4 separate regions of the Homo sapiens genome follow, and regions 2, 3 and 4 are each linked to region 1. Evidence: promoter capture Hi-C in 16 types of primary human blood cells and fetal thymus (Javierre and others, 2016). All regions are on one chromosome and are shown on one strand. Each heading gives the region's core, a stretch centred on a gene start or on the middle of the fragment in contact. The rest is flanking DNA. Distances are from core to core; before and after follow the strand shown. Region 1 holds the start of POU3F3 (POU class 3 homeobox 3). Region 2 has its middle 11 kb from the start of TMEM182. Region 3 has its middle 61 kb from the start of LINC01796. Region 4 has its middle 45 kb from the start of LINC01796.

Region 1 (6,233 bases), core at 1,469-3,968:
GGAAGGCATATTCTCAACTCTCCAGCACCGATGCGTCCTTAGCCTTCCCTTCACACTGACGCCTCGAAGCCCAGCTCTCCACTAGTCTATTATTTTCACCAAAATATATGAAAATGTATGCAAATGAAAATCAGCACTAACTGTTCTCCCCTTGTTATATACTTTGGATTTTTTTTTTCCAGACAAAACAATCACACTCGCAAAGGGAGGGGGCGGATGGGGTGGGGCAGCGTGGAGGGGGGAGAGAGGCCGGGGAGCGATTCGAGAATTAAGTACGACGAAAGGGGGGGAGGAAGAAGGGGACAGACCTCGGAACAGAAGTGTGTTTCTGTTATCGAGGAGCACAACGTTTTGGGGGGCTTCCCATACGCGCACACACACCCTCTTGAAAAGAAAGAAAGTGGATCTGTTTGCAGAGGCGCTATCACGTTTCATCAGGCCACCTGAGACTGCTTTTGAAAGCGTGTACTGTGAAATTCATAGCAGTAATTTAGACAAAATCCTCACTGTATATTAATGAAAGGCGGCCCCATGGCTCTGTTCCTATCCTCCCCATTCAGTGTAAACAAAACCACGAGACTCTCTCGGTTTTTGAGCCGGATCCAAGCAAAATCGGCAGGAAAGGAAAACACGGGGTGCTGGCACCGACTATTCAAACGTCTGCACCTGGAGATCTCAGATTGATTCAATGAAATCTGTGTTCCATCTTTTATATATACATATACGCATACGTAAATATAAAAAGCAACCTTTGGGGGCCGCAGAGGAAAAAAATCCGTTCTGTTTGGGGTTTGGTTACCACCGCCTTTGGTATCTATACCTTGGCAATAATGGCTTTGCTAAAACCTACCTACGATGGTATCTCACCCGGCAAGCAGGAGCTGGACAAGAGCCTACATAAATTCTACGCGTCTAGTGTTAATCTTGAGATCACGCGGGGGCTGCCTGGCTGCGGCTGGGCAGGAGAACTCCTGCTTTCACTGAGTTCACTTAACTGCGCTCGGCAGAGGCACGATACAGCGGGAGAGAAGGGCAGGCCCGTTCACATTTTAATCGGAGCGCACCGGCGGCCGCTCCTCGGCTGCGTCCTGGGCTGCCGCTCGGGCTCGGGACTGCCAGATGCAGGCTCTGGCTGGGGGCGGCGGGCGCAAGCGGGCGCACCCGCAGCTAGGGGTGCGGGGTGCACGCACACGCACGCTCATTAAGAGCCATGTATTTATTGAATGTCCGAGTTGGGTTAGTTCATTGGAAATCCCCGAGGAGGGCTCAATTTGCCCTTGTTTTCGTTGCCACTTTCTCTTTTTTCTTGGTTCGCTGAGGTTCCTCTGTGCAGCGTTTCCGCTTGGCCGCGTCCCCCCACCCCACCCCACCCCACCCCCGCTTCTCTCGCCTACCGGGTGCACTCCCCCTCCCATCCCCCTTAACTCTTTCAGCTGGGTTAGAGCTGAGAAAGCATTTGTCGCCGCCAGCCCCATCCACCACGCAAATCCATCTGAGACAGAAAGGAAAGAAAAAAAAGCACCACCATGCCTAAGAATAGAGAGCGAGCAAACCCCCCCACCGCTAATCACACACACACACACACACACACACACACACACACACGAGGAAGCGGTGGAGCAGAGAAGGGCGCGGCTAGCCGATCCCGGTTCTTTCGCCCGGCTCCTGCTGCCACAGGGAATTCCTAAAGCCATTGGGGTCGAATACACTTACGATGAATCTATGGGGGAAGGTCGGACTGATTGCTTTTCAAATACATCGCACGGCTCCGCTGACCGGCACCCTCCAAACTCACAAGGGCACGCACGCTACTTGCACGAATCCCAGAGGAGGGAGGAGGGAGGAAGGGAGGGAGAGCGAAGGAGGGAGAGAGGGGGTGGAGGAGCCAGGGAGCGGCGGCAGCGAGCGGTCCGTCTCGCACGCGCGGGCACCGCGCTGGTCCTGGGCTGCAGGTTTCCCAGATGATGGCATCCGAGAACTTAAACAAAGGGGGCTGCCGCCGGCGCGCAACGGCTGCGGAAAGTTGCGGTGGCGGATTTCCAAGGAGCGTGGCCACGACCAGAGCTCTTGGCGATGCGAGCCCCCGCTTCCCACCCCCGCCGATCAGAGAAGGGGGCCGGCTGGTGAAGGGAAGAGGAAACTTTGAAACCACTGGGGACACATCTGTCTATAGGTATTAGCTTGAATGGTACATCCGTGCCGCGCGCTTTACAAATCTCTGGCGGGGCGGGGGTAAGGGGGTGAGCAACCCGACGCGTACTAGGTGGGGTGGGCAGGTTGCTATTTTTCATGTTTCCCCCTTCGTTTTCCTTCTGATTCTCTTCCCCCCTCTCGTCCCTCCCTCCCTTTTATCTCCCCTTTCTTCCCCCCGCCCAGACCTATTGCGAACGCCCAGAGCCGCCGAGGGAACGCCAACGTCTGGGCCGGACACTAAGAGTTAAGATGTGGCGGAGGGGGCGGCGGGGGAGGGGCGGGGAGGGGAAAGTGGTGAGGGGGAGGGAGGCTGGAGGACGACAGATTTCCAGCTTCTACGACGCTCTGCCTAAATTAAAAAGCAACCAATCGGAACGGCCGGAAGGGGGGCCTCGCGTCCTGAGCCAGTCATTCCGAGCCTGCCAATCACCCAGCGGGTAGCCAATCAGCGGGGGCCCTGGTGCTCGACTTCCTTGTATTTGGGAAAGTGTGGTGGTGGGTGCGCGCTCGCGGCGGAGGGTAAACATTCGACAGTCCCCGCTCTGAGAGGGAGGGACAGAGAGCGAACTGTCAGATCGGAGCGAGAGCGGGCGCCCGAGAGAGGGAGAGAGAGAGAGGGAGGGAGAGGAAAAGTGAGAGAGGGAAAGAGAGCGCGAACGAGGGCGCAGAGCGAGCTCCTGCTGCAACTCTGCTCCAGCACGGCCAGCGCCAGCGCCCGCCGTCGGTGCACTCTACGAGCCGTGCAGCGTGCCCACTGGAGTTGTTGTGTATCAAGGATCGATCCCCTATATGCACACACACACCTCCACCTCCACCAATGCACTCTTCTTCCTCCTCCTTCTCCAGACAACTGCTGGGAAAAAAATAAAACACCAACCCCAACCGTCAGCAACAAGGTAACAGAGCGATTCGACATCATTTTTTTTCCTGTTCAATTTTTTCCTTGTTATATTTGTTTCCTAATTTCTGCCCAAAAGGAAAGATGTCGCATCAGACTGTGACTGTTGCGAGGAGAATGAAAAAGGACTCTTGTTTCAGAGGCAACCAAGAGCTCCGGCAATAGCAACTTCAGAGAAATGCACCATCGCAAGAAGTTTTCCTAGGACAGAACAAAACTTGAAACGAGAGGACCAGAGGGGGAGAGCAGGAGCCAGCCTCCCCTCTCCGCACTCGCGAGCAGCCAGCAGCACCACGCCTTCAAGGACGAAAAAGTTTTACTACTCTAAGGGAAAACGAGTGAAATGTGTTCCTGAGGAGGAGAGGAGAGGAGAGGAGAGAGCGGACAAGAGAAGGAGCGGGCCGGTTGCTGGTCATCCGTAATTTGGCTAAGGAAGAAAGGAGCAGCTTCTTTCTTTGTTATCTCCCGTGAAACCTTCACTTAGCAGGTGGACGGAGCCCCGCGACCGGGCAGAGTCCGGGCTCGCCCGAGGACAGGAGGAGGAGCGGGAGCCCGCGCGTCCCGGGAGAGCGCCCCGAGTGCAGGTCCCCGCCCCGCCCGGCGAGCCCCGCTGGAGCGAGCCCAGCGCGCCGGGGCTGGGGGGCGGCCACGACCCCCCCTGAAGGGGGTGGCCACGGAGCGCACCCCGAGAAGCGAGCCCCCCTCCCCAGAGCGCTGCTCCTGCGGCTGCTGCTGCTGCTGGTGACCAAGGCCGGCCGGCGACCCCCGCGCCCTGCCGAGCGGCCTTGCAGCTGCAGCCGGGGGCCGCGGCGGCGGCGGCGGCGGCGGGGGCGGAGGCGGCGGCGGAGGAGGAGGCGGCGAAGGCGGCGGGGCCGGCGGGGGCCCGGGGCGGGGGCGGGGAAGGAGGGGGGGAGGAGGCGGGAGGCGGGGGGCGCGGCGGCGGCGGCGGCGGCGGCGGCCGCGGCTGCTGCTGCGGCGGCGGCGGCGGTGGTGGCGGCGGTGGGGTGGCGGGAGCGGAGCGGCATGGCCACGGCGGCTTCTAACCCCTACCTGCCGGGGAACAGCCTGCTCGCGGCCGGCTCTATTGTGCACTCGGACGCGGCAGGGGCTGGCGGCGGCGGGGGTGGCGGCGGCGGCGGCGGCGGGGGCGGCGCAGGGGGCGGGGGCGGCGGCATGCAGCCGGGCAGCGCCGCCGTGACCTCGGGCGCCTACCGGGGGGACCCGTCCTCTGTCAAGATGGTCCAGAGCGACTTCATGCAGGGGGCCATGGCCGCCAGCAACGGCGGCCATATGCTGAGCCACGCGCACCAGTGGGTCACAGCCCTGCCCCACGCCGCCGCCGCCGCCGCCGCTGCCGCCGCCGCCGCCGTGGAGGCGAGCTCGCCGTGGTCGGGCAGCGCCGTGGGCATGGCTGGCAGCCCCCAGCAGCCACCGCAGCCGCCGCCGCCACCGCCGCAGGGCCCCGACGTGAAGGGCGGCGCCGGGCGCGACGACCTGCACGCGGGCACAGCGCTGCACCACCGCGGGCCGCCGCACCTCGGACCCCCGCCGCCGCCCCCACACCAGGGCCACCCTGGGGGCTGGGGGGCGGCCGCCGCTGCCGCAGCCGCAGCCGCCGCCGCCGCCGCCGCCGCGCACCTCCCGTCCATGGCCGGGGGCCAGCAGCCGCCGCCGCAGAGTCTGCTCTACTCGCAGCCCGGAGGCTTCACGGTGAACGGCATGCTGAGCGCGCCACCGGGGCCCGGCGGCGGCGGCGGCGGCGCGGGCGGTGGAGCCCAGAGCTTGGTGCACCCGGGGCTGGTGCGCGGGGACACGCCAGAGCTGGCCGAGCACCACCACCACCACCACCACCACGCGCATCCTCACCCGCCGCACCCGCACCACGCGCAGGGACCCCCGCACCACGGCGGCGGCGGCGGCGGCGCGGGGCCTGGACTCAACAGCCACGACCCGCACTCGGACGAGGACACGCCGACGTCGGACGACCTGGAGCAGTTCGCCAAGCAGTTCAAGCAGCGGCGCATCAAGCTGGGCTTCACGCAGGCCGACGTGGGGTTGGCGCTGGGCACACTCTACGGCAACGTGTTCTCGCAGACCACCATCTGCCGCTTCGAGGCCCTGCAGCTGAGCTTCAAGAACATGTGCAAGCTCAAGCCGCTGCTGAACAAGTGGCTGGAGGAGGCGGACTCAAGCACCGGCAGCCCCACAAGCATCGACAAGATCGCGGCGCAGGGCCGCAAGCGCAAGAAGCGGACCTCTATCGAGGTGAGCGTCAAGGGCGCGCTGGAGAGCCACTTCCTCAAGTGCCCCAAGCCCTCCGCGCAGGAGATCACCAACCTGGCCGACAGCCTGCAGCTCGAGAAGGAGGTGGTGCGGGTCTGGTTCTGCAATCGGCGCCAAAAGGAGAAGCGCATGACGCCGCCCGGGATCCAACAGCAGACGCCCGACGACGTCTACTCGCAGGTGGGCACCGTGAGCGCCGACACGCCGCCGCCTCACCACGGGCTGCAGACGAGCGTTCAGTGAAGCCAGGGCGCAGAGCGAAGAGGGCCGCCGCCGCCGCCGCCTCCGCAGCCGCCGTCAGCACCGCCGCCGCCCCTGCCGCCGCCGCCGCCGCCGCCGCCGCCGCTGCCGCCGCCGCGCCGACCCTGCACCTGGGCCGCTCCGGGCTCCAGCCCAGGCCCATCCGCCGCCCTCCCCTCCACCCAGAGACAGGCATGCCCGCCCTTGGAGGAGAAAACGCGGGAGAAACGGACCAAGGAGGCATTTTTGCAGTCCAAGGAAGGAGGGGCCAAAAAATAAAAAGCATAATAAACACCCAGACTGTTTTGTATACATATATAACAAACAAAACCGGAAGAGAAAAAGGGGGCGATCATGAGATCTCGTTCATACTGTGGTGGTGTTTCGTTTTTGTTTTTGTTTTTAAAGAAGGGTGAAGATGCCTGACGCACGAAAACTGCACTCGTGAGGTTTTTCCACCCTGAGATGACCTACACGGCAGCGGTGGACAGCACCTGCCTCGTCTTCTCCTCTTTGAAAAAAAGAGAGAGAGAGAGTCCCCTTTCCTTTCACTTTCTCCCTCCAAAACAGCTGCCTAAAGAGATCCACGGAAACTTTATTTCCTGGGAGCGACCTGAGA
Region 2 (6,233 bases), core at 2,659-5,158, 2.1 Mb before region 1:
GAGTGGCCCTCTCACTGCTGCTGTCATTGGTCCTACTGCTCCTAACCTGTTGCTCTGTCCTATGTATAATTCTAAGTCAATTTGATAAAGCGTATGTTTTGGTCTAAAGATAATTTAGACATACTCGGGTTAGAATGAGAAAAGGCACAAAATAACTTTTTAATAGATTATCTGCAATGTGGTGGGTCCTATGCTGGGCACTTTACTAAAGTTATCTTTTGTTAATTGCTTGAATTCTATTTTTTAGTCTAGGCTGGATTTAACTATGACTAAAATAAACAAAACAGAGTCCTTAATTGCATTTCACCTCAGTTTTCCTGATGTAAGATATTAGCAATGTCAAGAAAGAAGCATTACAAGTGTTGTGACCTCCTAAGTTAAAAGGGTATTTTCTTCTCGTCTTTTTCTCTGTCTTTTCTTTTTTATTCTGAGTTCTCAAATTAAGCTGATAACATAAAAATGACATTATCTGAGAAAAATTTACATAAATTCTAACCCAGCCCTCTTTTTACTCTTTCATTAAGATTGATCTTAAATTATTTCTCCAGTTATCGAAGCTTTGATTCTCCACCACTCTTAGAGCTTTGGAAAAGAAGAATGTAATTTCAAGACGTCTGCAAGTTCAAGGATAACTCTAAAATAAATAATGTATGACACAGATCCAAGATTACTGGAGGAATTTATCACAATAAATGGATTTATGCATTTTAAATGCATTTTAAAGAGATAAATTTAGTACCCTAAAATTGGACATATTTCCAAGAATTAAAACTTTATATTCTTACTTATCTCACTTTGGTTTACAATGTAAAATCCTGAACCTATTTTCTAAAAAGTAGAAGAACACTTTAGCTTTAAAAATATAATATTATTTCTAATAATATTAGTAGCATATAAAACAGTAAAATATCAGATAGTAATAAGGAATGAAGTAGTGACACATTCTACAACATGAATGAACTGGGGAAAATATTATGCTAACTGAAAGAAGCTCATCATAAAAGACCACATATTGAGTGTCCTCTATATATTCCATTTAGATGAAATACATGGAATAGGCAAATACCTAGAAACAGAAGCTAGATTAGTGGTTGCCCGGACCTGAGGGTGAATTGGGAATGAGGAGTGACTGCAAATAGGCAATTTCTTACTGGGAAAGATGAAAACGTTCTGAAATTAGATTATGGTGATGGCCACGAAACTCTGTAAATATACTAAAAATCATTGACTTCTATACTTTGATCAGGATAATTTTATGGTATATTAGTTATATCTTAATAAAGGTGCCTTAGAGAAAACTTTGAACCAATCATCTGGTGTGAAACAATTTGGAATCATAAAAGTACATAATTATGTACAAAAGAGCATTTATAATATATATACCTGTACATATTTCACATGGAATTAATTTCATCCTGTTCAAGAAAAGATCATTTTCCCTTTGTATGACAATATAAAGTTTCAAACACAAACTGCCTCTGTAAAATTTCAAAATTAATTATAATTTTTATGTAAAAAATACAAATATTTGCTTCCATCCTGTACAAAAAAAATTAGATGTATGTTTATATGAATAATACAAGGAATGAAAAACATACTTCAAAATGTTTCTGGTGATTACGTCTAGGTGGTAAGATTGCCCTTTGTTTTCTTTCTTTGCATATTTTTCAGTTTTCTATCTGGCGATCATATTAATTAATTTATAATAAATAAATGTTTTTTTTTAAATGAAGCAGGAAAAGATGGCTGCCTAATACCTCAATAATGAAAAAAAAGCATTTTTTTGCTTAAGTAGTATGCTACTTGCACAGATTCACTTTCGCTTCCCCAATGTTCCATTTTCTGGTTTGAACTCTGATGCAGTTGCTTTCTGCTTATTGGTCTGCTAGTGAAAGCAGATTAAGCATTTCTGCTATCAAATTTTAAAAATTCAGTGTTTAAAAAAAAGTGGCATAACAGAAGTTTTGCTAGACCTTCCCAGAACTTTATCATTGTATAATGTATGAGATTTGAAAACTGAAATAGACCAGCTTGTATGTGCCTCCCATGGTTGTAAGTAGGACCATTATTCCTATACCTGTTTTTTGCCGATGTTGCTTCTGTCCTAAGGAAATTCTGCCATCTGAGTCTTCCTTAAAGCAAACGTACACCTTCCCAGAATCATCTTTTATTTCCTCCTTTTGTCCATCTCCCTGATTGGCCATAATAGGGCATTCTTCCAAATGTCAGACAGTCAAAACCTTATGAAGGTCTTTCCGGGTATTCAATGGGTGAATGAATAAGAACTTGAACACATTTGGAGTCTGCTACTGGGATGAGTGTCACTTCAGCTCATTCTCTCTCAGACTCTGCAGAAATCAGTTTTGTGATGATTGCATAGAACAGTGGTTTCCAACCTGTTTGGAAACAGTGGTTTGGCAACCTCTGCATGTATTTTTTATTGTGCCTACCTGGGTGAGGTGTGATTGTCCTTTTTACCCACCCACTGTGTTCACAGTGATGTATGAGTCCGCTAGGACTGCCACAACAAAATACTACAGACTAGGTGGCTTAAAAACAGACATTTTCTCATAGTTCTGAAAGCTGGAAGTCCAGATCAGGGTGCAAGCAGGGTTGGTTTCTGGTAAGGCCTGCCCTGCTGGGTTGCATATAGCCGCCTTCTTGCTGTGGCCTCATTTAGCTGCTTCACTGTGCATGCTCAGAGATTTCTCTGGTTTTGAAGCCACGTTGTTGTCTGAGGTAGTACCCAAGGTTCATTGCCTCATGCCAAGAAAGTTAAGGACATGGACATACAAGGAGTGAGTTTAGGAGCAGAGGTTTAATAGGCGCAAGAAAGAGAAAGGAGAATAGCTCTCTCTCGTGAGAGAGAGGGTTGCCCGAGTGGGTCTTCCGGCCCACTACGGAGTTCACCGGATTTTATAGACAGGCTTGAGGAGGCGGTGTCTGATTGGCATAGGGCACACAGATTGAGTGGACCAGGTATGACGTTTACATAGTGCACGGGGAAGCTGGCCACCCCACCCTTTTCTTATTATGCAAATAAGCTTTCACTTGGCCTGGGCTGTGTCATCTGCTGCCTACTGCAAATGTGGTTGGAAAGGAGAAGGAAAGATGGAGCCGCCATTTTGAACATGCATAGTCCTAGGTGGCCCTTTCCTATTGGCACAGCTGCTGGCTTTCTTCCATGCAAGCTTCCAGCCTGCCCTTCTATGTCTGCAGCTTGATTTTACAGGCTACTCTTTGTTAGCAAAGAAAATGATTTTGGGGCTGCTTTTCATTAAAAGGAAAACCTTACCAAGGACTTTCCTACCCTCACTATCTGCTACATAACTTCTTCTTAACTCCTGTATCGTTATGTCCTTTTTCTTTCTTTCTTTTTAGAGACAGGGTCTCACTCTGTTGCCCAGGCTGGAACTCACTGTCACCTTGAACCCCTGAGGGCTCAAGCGATCCTCCTGCCTTAGCATCCCAACTATCTAGGGCTAGAGGTGCATGCCACCATGCCTGGCTAGTTTTTAAATTTTTTGTAGAGATGGGGGTTTCATTATCTTGCCCAAGCTGGTCTTGAACTCCTGGCCTCAGGAGATCCTCGTACCCTGGCTTCCCAAAGTGCTGGGATGACAGTTGTGAGCCACTGTGCCCAGCCTCTTCTTATGAGGATACTAGTCTTGCCAGATCAGAGCCCACCCTTTTGATCTCATTTAACCATAATTGCCCACTTATAGGTTCTGTCTCCAAATACAGCCCCACGGGGATTAGGGCAACATACGAATTTTAGAGGGACAGGATTTAGTCCATAGACAGTGCTTAGGGCAAAAAGCCCTGCCATAAAGAGATTCAGAGTTGTCTCAATTTCCTCATCAATAAAATGAGAGCAATCCTGATGCTTATTGCAGTGGATGATTGTGGAGAGCAAAAGAGCTGACAAACCTCAAGCACTTAGAACAGAGCTGGAGACAGTGTGAGAGCTACCTAAGTGTTGGGCATTGTTACTTTGTTACCTTTGACATTTTTGTTATTTAGTTGTTGTGTCATTTGGGTATCATGATATGCTCTAATTTTTAAGTGCTTACCCCATACCACATATGTATAATAATTAAGCAGAATTTAAAGGACCTGGCTGAGCAGAACGTGAGGAGAGAGCTGTGGAGCCGTCTATGTAGAATCTGTGGCAGCACCTTCAGCAGGCCTGGGACAGTGGCCTCTGCCTGGACCACTTCTGACTATTTTACAGTGATGCAACAGCAAGGGCTGTTTCCTCTTGGAGACATGGTGGCACTCTGGTTACAGCAACGTGTCTCCTTGCATTTCACTCTCTTTCTCACTGATTAGGTTGTCTTTCCTTTGGGCCATATGACCTGAACTTGCTGGGTCATTAGAGCCTCTTACAAGCACCTCGTCTGGAAAGTCAGTTGGAAAGGAGTTTGCAAGTCCATTACATGTTTCCTGATAAAGAAGGAACTAGTAACATACCCCAGAGACAAAGATAAATCAGAATTTTTCTTTCTCTAAATTAAGACTCAAGTCATTGCACAAAAGAAATGTGCAGAGCACTTTTATAACTGAAGGACAGAAGAGGAGAACCTTTTCATTCACACAGCTTCTGGCTTATGAAATGTAATATGCAAGCTTAGAAAGAATTATTTTAACTCTAAACGAATGAGGAAATTAAATTGAAATTACAATAGTTTAAAATGTATATTTGTTTATAAAATAGATCTATCTCTGTAAGTTACATCATTTTGATTTCTAAAATTCCCCAAATTCTGTATTAAATGATTTCACTCTTTGGTCCCCAGTTTTGCTTATGAAATGTTTTACTGTGTGCTTATTGCATTTGAAGGCAGGATTTTAACAAATGAGTTTTAAGCTTCCCCCCCCCACTGCCTTCAAGAGTTACTATACTTAAATGTATTAATAGAATCCTTTGTGAAATAGAGGCTGGAGCTACATAGCAAACCCTTTTGCAGAGGGAAGGGTATTTTTGTTATAAAGCCCCCTTGGTGTGAATTACTTGTATAGGTGACTCTCAATTTAAATAAGCATAAACTGCCTAAATTAATGAGGTGAATGAGCTTATGGATCTTGCTGTAGTCATGTTCAGTGTAAACTATTCATTGGGGTCTAGATGCTTAGATGAACTCATCTTAGTTAAGGCTATTCGGCATCAAATAATGTGAAACTAATAAGTCGTTGTTCTACTATATGTATTTTTATTTTTTAAAAAAAAATTGAGATGGGGTCTTGCTATGTTGCCCAGGCTGGTCTAGAACTCCTGGGCTCAAAAGATCCTCCTTCCACAGCCTCCCAAAGTGCTTGGATTACAGACATAAACCACCATGCTCAGCCAGTTCTTCATTTTTGATAGATAAAAATTCCCAACAACTGACTGTAATGTTCGTTGGAATGCAAATTTTGCCTATGGCCAGCAGGTGGCAGTATTCAAACCAATTTAATTAAGCTCAGTAAGATGAATAGCTGAATTTTTACTGAGCACCTACCTTACAGCATTGTGCTAGGTGTAAGAGATGCAACACTAAACAAAAACCGAACCACTTATTGTCCTATATAGTTTATTTGTTGTTCTTGTACTATATGTAAGACTAGAAAACCTGTGAATAATCCCTGAAAATGCTTACAATATGACCGTGTTTTATATTGATGGGTAAAGGAGGTAGTAGAGAGGACGCCACACAAGAATCACAAACTGTAATACAAAACTAATATTAAAGGGTCAGTAGAATCACAGAGACATGCGGCTCATAGGCAGTAAAAATCTGTTTCAATAATTATCATAGGGAAGCAATTGTTCTTCGGGTCATCTCTCAGTTTACCGTCTTGTGTCTAGGATGATGGGCCACAGTCCCTTATGTGTAATCCTTTGGGCCAGATGTGTTTAGAACTCAGAATTTTGGAGATTTTAGAAAAGTAACACAATACATATACTGTGCATTACCTAACACCCACTCGTGGAACCTGGGGAACCTTGAAATAAATCAAACACATTCGTATTTATGCCATAAAATATATGAGAATCCACACTGTATGGCCTCATGTTGGTCAGATCTGCTTTGCCAAAAGCTTTGGGTTTTCAGAGACTTTTGGATATTAGGGTGGCAGATGAAGTATTGTACACCTACAACATACTATCCTATGAAAAAAAGAATCTACACTAAAATCTCCAAAAAAGATGTCAGAACTTTCTTTGGTAAACCATTCCAGTTTTCTAGAAC
Region 3 (6,233 bases), core at 1,204-3,703, 2.0 Mb before region 1:
CAGCAGTGGGATTGCTGGATCATATGGTAGCTGAATCTCCAAACTGTTCTCCCTAGTCGTTGTACTAATTTGCATTCCCACTGACAGTGGACAAGTGTTCCCTTTTCTCCACAATCCTTGCCAGCATTTGTTATGTATTCTACATTTTAACCAACTAACAAATGAAAGTTTGATACACAAAGGTAAACAGGATCCACCCTGCATACACGACCGATGTGTTAACATGCAGTCATCTTAAAAGAAGAAGAGTGGTGGGCCAGGCATGGTGGTTCATGCCTGTAATCCCAGCACTTTGGGAGGCTGAGGTGGGCAGATCACCTGAGGTTAGGAGTTTAAGACAAGCCTGGCCAACATGGTGAAACCCAGTCTCTACTAAAAATACAAAAATTAGCTCAGTGCGGTGGTACATGCCTGTAGTCCCAGCTACTTGGGAGGCTGAGGCACGAGAATTGCTCAAACCTGGGAGGTGGAGGTTGCAGTGAGCTGAAATCGCACCACTGCACTCCAGCTTGGGCAACAGAGCTAGACTCTGTCTAAAAAAAAAAAAGAAAAAGAAGAGTGATGAAGGATGCCAGATGCAGAACTTCTGGGTCTTGGGATATGCTTCTTAATGGGGGTCTTCACCATGACTTATTGCAAACTTGGGACACCCAACCACCAACTGATGGCAAAGAAGAGCTAGGCATTCTCCTTGTGACAATGTTCTTTCTTTTCATAGGACAAGGCTTACAGTTTCATATGTATTATGTAAAGGTGAATTGTGTATGCCAAGTAGAGAAAACGCAAGAAGACAGTGGGAAATGTTGATATATTTCATATTGCCATGCTCTCATATCCCCATACCTGGCATGACAGAGTGAGAGACGGATAGCCATTCTTGATGGATACAGTGGTCATGTATTTCACTGGATTCTATCCGCCTACATTCTTTATTCCACTATGCCATTTTGTTCAGAATTCAAATGTATTCCAGGGATGTATTTCTGGACTATAAATTAACTCTTTCATTTAAGTAGTTCTCCTCAATATTCCTCTAAATTCTTCCCCTTGAAATTACATCCTACTTTTGGTATTGTTATAGTTATTTTGTTCATTTCTACTGGGATTGTAAATCAACACATACATCACAGTCATTTCACAATTCTCATCGAAAAAGACCTCACTCAGCTTAATAAGGTGCAGTGCCTTGAGTATCATTCTTTGAAGGCCTTTGAAGTGTTTCCTTCCAGGCTTTATTCTTAAAGAACGAAGATACTGGGGCCAGGATGTCTGAGCCAGAGGCAGAATCCTATGCAACTGTGCTCAAGTCCAGCACTTAAATAAAAGCCAGAAGAAGTTGGAACTATTGCAAGCACATTTATAATATCATTTGAGGGACAGCTGGGGTCAGTGCTAAATTTTAAATTATCAGATGCAGGGAGACAACTCTTGCATAACAATAAGCGCAGGCTGTCACATTGAGCAGAAAATAACCATACTTTCACCTTGGAAAATATATTCTAAATAGGACAGTAATTGTTTTCAGAAAGCTATTCAGTGACTTACTTTCTCCCCCACCACACACACACTCAAGAATTGCCCAGGAATAAGGTAAACTTTTTATTATAATTTATACAATGTGGTAATTTTTTGAATAGTTTAGAATTTTTATAGCCTGATAACAGATCTTCCAAATTGCACACAGCCATCCTGCACTGGCAGGGAGACAGGCTTGGATGACCTGCTGGGTCTTTCTCATCTCTAATGTCTGTGAGTCTTTGAAATACATCCCGGAGCTTAATTATGACAGCAGTCTTTATTATTCTGAGCCCCTAATGGCACACTTCATGGGAACAATGCAAAAAGAAAAGAGTCAGTGCCTTTGCCGTGGTTTACACAAAAATTGGAACATGCTATGATTTCAGGGAGGAGCTCCCCTTTCTCAGGCAGGTGGGAGGTTGGAGGAGGAGTGGTGGGTTAGGGAGAAGAGGGTTGCTGGCAGGGGCTTATTGAACTAATTCTCAGTTATTTGTTCATAGTCTGGTATAAATCAGTCATAGATAGACTTTTTGCAGGAATAACAACCATGTTAATTTTGAGCCTTTGCCTCAATTTAGACAACTTAGATATCATCCCCCTCCCATCACCAGATCCAATTGCAGTTCTAATTTCTCCCTGGAATTGTGCATGGGGACTAGAAAATCAGGTCAAACATCGTGCTTATTTTTTAAACTTTTAATTTTGAAAAAATTTAGACGTATAGAGGAGTTGCAAAGAGAATGGAGTGCTCCCACACACACACCCTGATTTATTTTCCCCAAGGTTAACATCCCAGGAAACCATGGTTCAACTCTCAAAACTAAGTTAACCTTGGTACAATACCAAGAACTAAACTACACACCTCATTAGGAATCCACTAGTCTTTCCTCCAATATCCTTTCTCTGTTCCAGAATTAGGTCCAGGATCCCACCATGCATTTAGTTGCAATGTCTCCTTATTCTCCTCTCATCTGTGACAATGTCTCAGTTTTTCCTTGTCTTTCATGGCCTTGAAACATTTGAAGAGTACTGGTCAAGGACTTTGTCCAGCATGTCTCATTTATATTTGTCTGATGTTTTGATAGATTGGAGCCATACATTTTGGGAAAGAATACCACCAGAGGCCATGTGCCCTTCCCAACGCATTGCATCAGAGGACATAAAATATTAACATATCCTATTTCTGGTGATGGCACCATTGATTCTATTGATTAAGATGAGGTCTGCTAAGTCAGTAACTTATCCCATTTGTGTAAATGGGACCTGGGTCAGCCATGGAACCTAGATAACCTTATGTTAATTATGAGTTCAATAAATACATAAGTTAAATAGTATATACATATCTTGAGCAAGGATTCAGTGTTTCCAGTCATTGGGTGGGCTTGCATTTTTAATTTCCCTGCTCTACGAAGTGTGACCGCAAAGGTATATAGGTCTAAATATATCTCTGGCAATGACATGGCTGCCTATAGCCATCCCTACTTTGCCGTGGGCCTAACTCTAAGGCTGAAGGATTATCCATTGATAAACTTCATGCACAACAGTCTCTGTAAAGAAAAAAACCCTCATCCATTTACCATCTTAGGACTCGTCTGTTTTTTTCTGTATATTGTAACATTTCCCTTTTTTTTTCCTTCTGATCTTCTCTTGGGATCCTCTGCTGTAAACAGAAATCTAGAAGATGGGGGGATGGAAGTGAAGTGGAATGTAAAAACGTCTGCCAGTGCCCCATGGTCTCCAACCCACTTTCAGATGCACCGTCTCATTTCAACAGATATAGGTGAGCCTTGGGAGGTGTGCATATCCATGAGAGTGTTATTGCTACAAATAGAAAAACAAAACAAAACTGATGCTTAACAATGTTCAAGGACTTGCCAAGGTCATATGGCTGTGACAGTGCAGAGTGGGTTGTAGATCCAGGGTCTCTGAATACTTAGTCTGCTGGTCAGGCTCACCACATATTTCACACCAGGAAAACAGGCTCAGGGCTCCTGCAGGTCCAGAGCAGTCCAGCATATAAGCAGGTGACTTGAACTCTCGATTTATTACCAAGCTGTTACAAAAGCCAAGCATCCTTCGTTAATCACTCTGGGTTTTCCACTTGCCGGTTGTTACCTTAGGAATAAAATATTCCTGGGGTCTATTTCTAATTTAATGCCAGGATGCAAATTGGGCCTCACCCGTTTCACCTGAGGTGTTATTTATGCCCAAATAACACCTCCTAGATGAGGACTTATTGTGCCTGTTTCCTCCTTTGGAAATTAAGGATAATAATAGTAATCAGCTGCACACAAAGCAATTGTGGGGGGCGGGGATGGGAAAGGCTCAGTGATTGTAACAGCTCACAGAAAACCCAAGATCAGGGAGAAGTGCTGTAGAAATGCTAAATGCAGCAGGAAGAATTATGACATCTCTGCAAATTCACCACCGGAGGCCAGGATAATACAAATGCTTGGCAAATGGTAACTTCATTCAACAAATATATTTTGGCTACATGTAACATTGGAATCCAAAGGTAGAAGGGTTTTTAGATAATAATAATCGTGACTCGATTTTTAAAATTGACATTTTTTACAGTAGTTTTAGGTTCACAGCAATATTGAGTAGAAGGTATAGAAATTTCTCATGTGCTCCCTGCCCACACGCAGGCACAGCCTCCTCTGTTACCATCATCCTCCACCACAATGGTGCATTTCTTACAATTTATGAGCCTTCATAACACATCATAACCACCCAAGGTCCATAGTTTACTGAGGGTTTACTCTTGGTGCTGTACAGTCTTGGTGTTGGGTTTGGACAAATGTATCCACCATTATAGTACAAACGGAATTGTTTCACTGCCCTAAAAATCCTCTGTGTTCCATCTGTTTATTCCACCCAACCCCTGAAAACCACGGATCTTTTCACCATTTTTATAGCTTTGTGCCTTTCAGAATTTTCTTTTTTTAAATTTATTTAATTTATTTTATTTTTTTATACTTTAAGTTTTAGGGTACATGTGCACAACATGCAGGTTTCTTACATATGTATACATGTGCCATATTAGTGTGCTGCACCCATTAACTCGTCATTTACATTAGGTATATCTCCTAATGCTATCCCTCCCCCCTCCCCCGACCCCACAACAGGCCCCGGTGTGTGATGTTCCCCTTCCTGTGTCCATGTGTTCTCATTGTTCAGTTCCCACCTATGAGTGAGAACATGCGGTGTTTGGTTTCTCAAGGACAGAATGTTCTATAGTTGGAATCATACAGTATGTAGTCCATTCAGATTGGGTTATTTCACTTGGTAATATGCATTGAAGGTTCCTCCATTTCTTGTCATGGCTTGATAGCTCATGTCTTTTTAGCACTGAATAATATTCCATTGTTTGGAGGTACCACAGTTCTCTTTGCCCCGTGAAGGATATCTTGGCTGTTTCTAAGTTTCGGCAATTATGAATACAGCTGCAATAGACATCCATGTGCAGATTTTTGTGGGGACACAAATTTTAACTTATTTGGGTAAATACAAAGATTATAATTGCTGGATCATATGATAAGAATATGTTTAGGTTTAGAAGAAACCTCCAAATTATCTTCGAAAGTAGCTGCACAATGTTGCATTCCCACCAGCAATGAATGAGAATGCCTGTTGTTCCACATCCTCACTGGCATTTAATGCTGTTTGTTTTTTGGATTTTGACCATTGTAATACGTATATAATGGTATCTCATTTTGCTGAAGTGTTTTAAGTGCCAGATACTGGACTAAGCACTTTAAACAATGATCTCATTGAATCCTTATAAGAATGCTATGAGGTGAGTGCTATGCTTTTGTCTTCCCATTTTCCAGATTAGTAAAGGCAAGTTTAAAGAGGCTGCATAACTTGCCCAAGATTCCATGAACAAAAAGCACAAAGCCAAGTGTTCAGAGGCGTTCTCAGTGCTGGTTTGCTTGTCCACTCCCTGCTTTTATGAAGGAGGGCCTTGATTCTAGATCTGTTAAAGGACTCACTCAGAGTGCCACACAGAGCAGGACACAGGAAGAGAACTCGGCCTCTGTCAGCTGTGCTGCCCCACAGACAACTTCTCAGCCTTCAGTCATGGCAGGGTTGGCCATTAATAGAAAGCGTTCAGTCCTTGGCCTTATACTGGGAATCCTGATGGCTATTCCAAGCTTCTCCAATCCAGTGCTTATTTCTGAATGCATTTAATGCTCTGATTGGAGACAGGACCTCTCTTGAGTGCAACACATAAAACTTAGCATTGCCTCACAATCAGTTGAAATATGTTGCCTGCCCTGTGCCTGAACACCAGCTGCAGATGAGAGGTCTGTGTTATTATGGTACCTCCCTCCAACCTTAATTGTTTTCTTAGGTAGTTTCCACTCCCAGTTCTCTGATACCCTGTGGTGTTTCTAATTTCTTCATATGTCATAGTTAATTCTTAGAACATTAGTTCCAACCCAATTCTATTTGAAAAACAAATGTTAGACATAAGAAGGTGAAGTTTGTGGGTTTTTTTTTGTTTTTCCAATTTAGGGGGCTGTAATCCCTAAAAAGTCAAGAATTATAAAGTTGTTCATTAAGATAAATAAGAAAAACGTTATTTGTTTTTAACTTAAACTAGAGAGAAGAAAAGCATGAACAGCAAAGCATTGACTAGATTCTACCGATACATTGAAGAATGATTTGCTGTTGTTAATAGGGTGGAGATTCTGTTAGAAAATTCAATA
Region 4 (6,233 bases), core at 2,458-4,957, 2.0 Mb before region 1:
ATTGTAGATATTTTCAAATACTGTATTTTGGCCTAAAGAACAAGAAAAGAACCCCCCCAATGTGCTCATCCTCCACATTCAACAGGTTATCAACATTCTTCCAGTCTCCTTTCATCTATTCCAGCCCCACTGTTTTCTGGGATACTTTAAAGCAAATCCCTGATACTACATCATTTCACCAATGGATACTCTCTATCTCATAGCTAAAACCCTTCCCCCATTGTAAAAATTAATCTCGATACCATTATTGGCAAAATTAACAATAATTTCTTAATGTCATCTAATTACCCAGGTCTTAACCAATTGTCCAACATTGGCTCGAAGGTAACTTTTAATCGTGGTTTGTTTGAATCAAGACCCATAAAAGATCCATACATTGAGTGCATTTCATTGATCTATTAGGTAGTCTTGAAATAAATAGTGACCCTCTCCTGCCTGTCTTTCTACTTACTACCTCCGTTTCATTCTTTTTTCTTTCCTAACATCAGTTTGTTCAAATCAGCAGGTTATGTCCTGAAGATTGGCACATTCTGGATTTGGCTGGTGGGATCCTCCAGAGTCATTTAGAGTGCAAACTTATGATACATCTGAGACTTCATTAGATTCTTATCATCAGCAGGGAAACTTCCTAGGAGATTTTTTTTATTTTATTTTAATAAATCTCTCCCAGGAAAGACCACCCGGTGGCAGTGTTAGGCACAACTTTTCCTTGGGTGAGTCTCCTCAATGCCAGGGACCTTGCCCCTCCCCTGAGTTCTCTATTTTCCCGGTGCCTGCCAGCCACACCAGCGCCTGCGCATGCGCATGCGGAAGGACTAGCTTCCAGCCCGGGGGCCGCTCTGCCTGCCGGGGAGCCGCTCCCTGGGTCCACTGGGACCTGGAGTGGGCGTGACTGACGGCTTTGCCTGCCTGGCTGCAGAAATCACTGGCTCTGCTTTGGATTCATTGGTTTAAAAGTATAAGACAGTTTTTTGAGGATGAAAAACTGAGGGTTTTCCATTTGAGTTAAAATAAGCAGTAAGATTTGCAGAATGTTCCATACAGCAGCCAATTCGATAGAAATTGATGGCAGCCCGAGTTGTTATTTCAGCCACGACCCCCTTTCCTGCTTCCTCACAAAAGATAACCACCAATTCTGTTACTTTAACCTTCAATCTCTGAGACACTTTCAGTGCTCATTTTTTCATCCAAATGTCAGGAAAGTCTTGGAACAGTCATCTACATCTTTCCGACACTGCCTCCTTGGAGATCAAAACAGTGACCGGCACAGCACGGGGACAATGTTTGCTTAGAAGTGTAGTCTACATTAAGGCTGTGGCACCAAATTACTAAATCACACTTAACCTCAGTTTATTCATTTGTAGAATGCCAACAACAATCACTAAGTAATAAGGACTAAAGGAGCGAATTGCTGTACCTGTCATATAGTCGTTGTTCAATTAGCATTAACATAAAAGCAAGGAAACTCAACTTAATTAGATTGGGTCTTCAGAGCTGGAATTCGGCTAATTTCTTGCCATTTTAAAATTTGAGTCATCACACTGAATGAGAGGCCTGGCCTTGGAATGATGGAGTAGGGCCACGTGTGTACTTTTGCAAAATTAATGAGGATAAATTAATTCACTAGTAGGTGACTAGTGCACACTGAAGCTCTAAGCTGGATATCTGAAATTTGTTAGTTAAAATTAAGTAAGAGCTATTTTACCTGGAGTATTTCCTTCCTTGTAATTTAAAATTAAACCTTCAGCCAAAGCAAGTAACTTTAATTTAAATGAATTTCAAACTCTACTCTTGCGATTCTATTTCTCTCTGTGTCTTTCTGCCTGTATAGTCATTGTGCATTAGAGCATCTTTGCTGATGAGGTCAGTTTGCTAAAACGATTTATTTTCTTAACAATTTTGAGTATATTATTTAGACCATTTAAACGGCTTTTAGGGAAATTACTGACAAGCATATTTAAATTCAGAGCCAGGTCACTATAAAGAAGAAAAAGTGGAAGAAGATAAACACCCTCATTCAACATCCAGAAGCCATAATTGTGGTCATGAATAATCGTGTATTCCTCTAATAAATTATTAGATTGTAAGCCAATATATTTTGTACAAAATCATCTTAAACATTTCCAGAAGTAAAAATTCAAAAAAAAAAATCAATCATATGGTTCTTTCTGTCACATTTTGGGTATGAACTAATTTATTTGATGATATATCAATGATGAGAAGAAAACAGGAATATTTAAGAAATTAATGATATAGTGCCATGAGTACTTTGCCAACCACTTAAAAATAAGAAGCCAAAATATTAATGGTATAAAATATGTTTATATACATTCAGAATTTTAATGAGATTCTCTTGATATGTTGTGAGTTAAATGCCAAATTCATCTGCACTTAAGCAGATCATACAGGTATTGAGAATGTGGGTAACATGTATGAAGGCAAATTTAAAACACACATTCCTCAGCTGAAAAGGTAAAATCATTAGAGATTATTTAGTGTGTGTCCAGAGAAACACAAAGTTAAGACATTTTATGGTTAGCTGAAAAATGCTGTGGTGATTTTTCCATAGACACCCTCCCTCCCCATTTCGGCTCTTGCTAGATGATTCTCATTTCTACACTGTAATTTCCAGCTTATCCTAAATATAGACTCTGGATTTCAGCCATCCTAATTAAACTGTGAAGTTCTTTTGTAGTGAGCTCTGATGCTTTGGAAATCAATTTCCAAGCTTACACAAGCAGTGTGTGTCACCTTTTTGGTTTTCTTCCCCTTTATGAATTTATCTGGAGATGGTAAATTTCAAATACTATTTTAGTGGCACATTTGTTCCATTTTTTTGGTCCAGGCTGTTAAAAAATAGTAATAATTATAAACTTCCTTCTGTTTTATAGAGATTAATTCATTCTTTCAAAAGTTTCCCACCTTAAAGTACCTATCCCCTTTCCGCACAAAGTCTTTATAGTATAAATAAAGAAAGTGAGATTAAATTGTTTTTCCTAAGGCTATTTGGAGAAACAAGTATGGGATTCTTTTCTGTTACACAAAATTCATGTTTTTTCTGGACACACAGCTGTTAGAGATAATGGGATCTTCACTAAGGGAATAGAAAGTGAGAATCAAACACAAACATTTCAGTACAAGCCACTCTACAGGATAAGGCTAAAAGCTGGTGTGCGGAATCTTGGGTGTTGGCTCAGGAGTACCTGTGTCTTGACAGTGCTCCTCCAGAGCCGGCCTGGCCCCGAGACTGCACCGAGGAGCTGCATGGACTCTGAGAGCTCACCTTCTGTGACAATGTGCACACCTTTCCCATCCTGCCTTCTGCCCTTGGAGAGCAGCCGGCTGCAGTCCCTGGGCTGGGATGATTGGAGACGAAGTTTTCTCTGACTGCAACTTTGAGCAGGGACTAAGACAATGAAAATTCCATAGGAAGGTTGCAAACTATTTTTTAACAAAACCCAGATGTCTATATCCTTTGAAGGTTCAGTTTGAGAGTAATTTTACAAGGACTCTGGTTTGTCTTTTGGCTTCAACTTGCGGAATGTGATTTTACTAGAAGTCTTCATGACTGTTGTGAGGTGGTTGTAGTGGTGGCTTTCCTTTTAAGTTGTCTTGGAAAGGCAGAAACACCTGAAATAGTCAGTGTGTTTGTCCCAGGGCTTAGGAGGTCAAGGAGCAAAAATCAAGCACTCTATGAGCTACAGTTGGACTCAAAGTGTTTTGCAACCCTGGCTACACATTAGAATACTCGTATGAGTCTTCTGAAATAGATGTTAAGTACCTGGGTTTCACATGCTGACCAACTATATCAGTTTCTTTGGGTTGGGCCAAATGTATGAGTAGGCTTTTAAAATTCCCCAGGTGATTTTAATTTGCAGTCTGTGTTGTAGATCAGAGTACTGGTTCCAAACATCGATGTCCACAGCCATGGGGAGCTCTATAGATCTCCAGGTATGTCACAGAAGCCTAAACATTACTTTTAATATGCTTTATTTGAGACAAAGTAGTTACTACTTTAGATAGCAATTTTGGAGGGTAGATCAACCAGGAAGGAGGCAATGAGAGGAAAATAAATGAAGTACTCAACAGAATGATGCTTCCGTTCTAAAAAGGCAGGGATAATGATTTAGAGGGTTAAGTTTCCTCTATATGGGTCTAAGTTATGAAAAAATATATAAAAGAAAGTTTGGTTTAAAAAGATAGAAGTTATAACAAATGTGCTATGCAACATTCTTTTTTCGGTTGATCTCACACTAAGATAAAAATGTTACATTTTGCTACTAGATATATGCTATTATAATACTGTCAAGTTAGCATAATGGATTTTGCCTACAAAACGGTCCAGTCTTGAGCTAAGATTTAGCAGATTGATACACTTTAAGAAGAAGGAACATTTTCCGGTTCTCATTGTCAGTGTAAAGCAGTAGTTCTCAAACTTAAAACAGAATCATCTGGAACTTGTTAAAACACAGATTTATGGGGCTCACACCAAGAGTTTCTGATTCAGTGGTTCTGGGTGGGACCCAAGAATTGCATTTTTAACAATTTGTGAATGATGCTGATACTACTGGTCTGGTGGTCACACTTTGAGAAGCACCGGTCAAAAGCATTAGAATAGTCATTCATAGGTTCATTTTACGTAGTACATGTCTTGGCTCAGGTTCTCTAGAAATAGAACCTGAGGCAAAAGCTTATATGTGAATGCTTTATTGGAGTATGCAAGCCCTGGGAAGCTTGTGTGAGGGAAAAGGAACATGAAGTCCAGAAGGAGGGCAAACAGATCTGAGGGTGTGTTATGGTGCTGTGGAGCTGACCTGGAGAGAGAAAGAAAAAAGAATTTACCTACCACCTCTCTCAGATGTTCCCTCCACTTCCAAGCTGTGTCTCCTTCCTGTCCAGTTAGTCACTGGAGAAGCCAAGCTCCATAGATATAATCTTGCCAGAGGGCAGTTGGCATGTGCATGGGATCCTAGGTCTACAGGCTTGGCAGCAAGACTCTGCAAAGCACCAGCCTCTGGGAGGGTAGCTTTTTCCATAAAGGAAAACAAGAGCCCCCACCCAGAGTAGCATATAAACTGACCCTGGTAAACGATCAGTGCTTCTCAAATTATTTGCTGTGAAAAATATGGTTTTAAAATTGCCACTGGTTCATAGATCCTTGCCCCACTGTGTCCTCTTGTGCCTGACAGCATGCAGTGCCACATGTGATGTGACTCAGTACATTGGCTCAGCAACACCCAGATCAGCCTAAATCTTGTTCATGCAAGGGAGTCCACTGCTCACATACACAGATGTCATGGCAACGTCAAGTTGCTGTGAAGATTTGCAAATACTGACTCTCAACTGTTTTTCTGCCCCTTTCTCTTCATGAACTGATAACAATTAGCAGACCGGGTTGTCTGCAGACCACTCTTTGGAGAGTGCAAGTGTATTAGTTCGTTTTCACACTGCCAATAAAGACATACCCGAGACTGGGCAATTTACTAAAAAGGTTTAATGGACTTACAGTTCCATGTGGCTGGGGAAGCCTCACAATCATGGTGGAAGGCAAGGAAGAGCAAGTCATGTCTCACATGGAGAGCAGCAGGGAAAGAAAGAGGGCTTGTGCAGGGCAACTCCCTGTTTCAAAACCATCAGATTGGCCGGGCACAGTGGCTGGTGCCTGTAATCCCACACTTTGGTAGGCCGAGGTGGGTGGATCACCTGAGGTCAGGAGTTTGAGACCAGCCTGGTCAACATGGTGAAACCTTGTCTCTACTAAAAATACAAAAATTAGCTTGGCATGGTGGTGAGTGCCTGTAATCCCAGCTACTTGGGAAGCTGAGGCAGGAGAATTGCTTGAACCCAAGAGGCGCGAGTTGCAGTGAGCCAAGATCGTGCCATTGCACCCCAGCCTGGGTGACCAGAGTGAGACTCTGCCTCAAATACACAAACAAACAAACAAAAAATCAGATCTCATGACACTTATTCACTATCACAAGAACAGCATGGGAAAGACCTGCCTACATGATTCAATTACTTCCCATCAGGTCCTATCCACAACACATGGGAAGATGAGATTTGGGTGAGGACACAGCCTGACCATATCATTCCACCCCTGGCCCCTCCCAAATCTCATGTCCTTACATTTCAAAACCAATCATGTCTTCCCAACAGTCCCCCAAAGTCTTAACAACTCATTTCAGCATTAACTCAAAACTCCACAGTCCAAAGTCTCATCAGAGACAAGGCAA

What was found. Contacts are between HindIII fragments. The CHiCAGO score rates a contact against its expected background, and 5 or more counts as called.
Region 2: a contact is called between a fragment that was not itself captured here and the fragment with the promoter of POU3F3 in region 1, in 1 of 17 cell types (naive B cells). The highest score is 6.8, in naive B cells.
Region 3: a fragment that was not itself captured here is called in contact with the fragment with the promoter of POU3F3 in region 1 in 1 of 17 cell types (total B cells); the score reaches 6.6 in total B cells.
Region 4: a contact is called between a fragment that was not itself captured here and the fragment with the promoter of POU3F3 in region 1, in 3 of 17 cell types (endothelial precursors, naive B cells and M2 macrophages). The highest score is 12.1, in endothelial precursors.

What each region holds. Positions count from the first base shown.
Region 1 is chr2:104,851,397-104,857,629 of GRCh38, forward strand. POU3F3 (POU class 3 homeobox 3) reads left to right here and starts at 2,719. Exons shown (of 1, transcript NM_006236.3): 1 at 2,719-6,233. The coding sequence starts at 4,115. The coding sequence ends at 5,617. It overlaps PANTR1 (POU3F3 adjacent non-coding transcript 1), which reads right to left and starts at 80. Exons shown (of 4, transcript NR_037883.1): 1 at 1-80. RefSeq lists a silencer at 1,065-1,114 and an enhancer at 2,323-2,912. The HindIII fragment of the contact is 8,766 bases long and covers 1-6,233 here.
Region 2 is chr2:102,748,322-102,754,554 of GRCh38, forward strand. It overlaps a transcript of TMEM182 not described here. Among named protein-coding and RNA genes, the nearest start is that of TMEM182, 11 kb to the right of the region's middle. The HindIII fragment of the contact is 1,438 bases long and covers 3,190-4,627 here.
Region 3 is chr2:102,831,221-102,837,453 of GRCh38, forward strand. It overlaps a transcript of TMEM182 not described here. Among named protein-coding and RNA genes, the nearest start is that of LINC01796, 61 kb to the right of the region's middle. The HindIII fragment of the contact is 6,439 bases long and covers 1-5,673 here.
Region 4 is chr2:102,847,835-102,854,067 of GRCh38, forward strand. No RefSeq gene overlaps it. Among named protein-coding and RNA genes, the nearest start is that of LINC01796, 45 kb to the right of the region's middle. The HindIII fragment of the contact is 1,962 bases long and covers 2,727-4,688 here.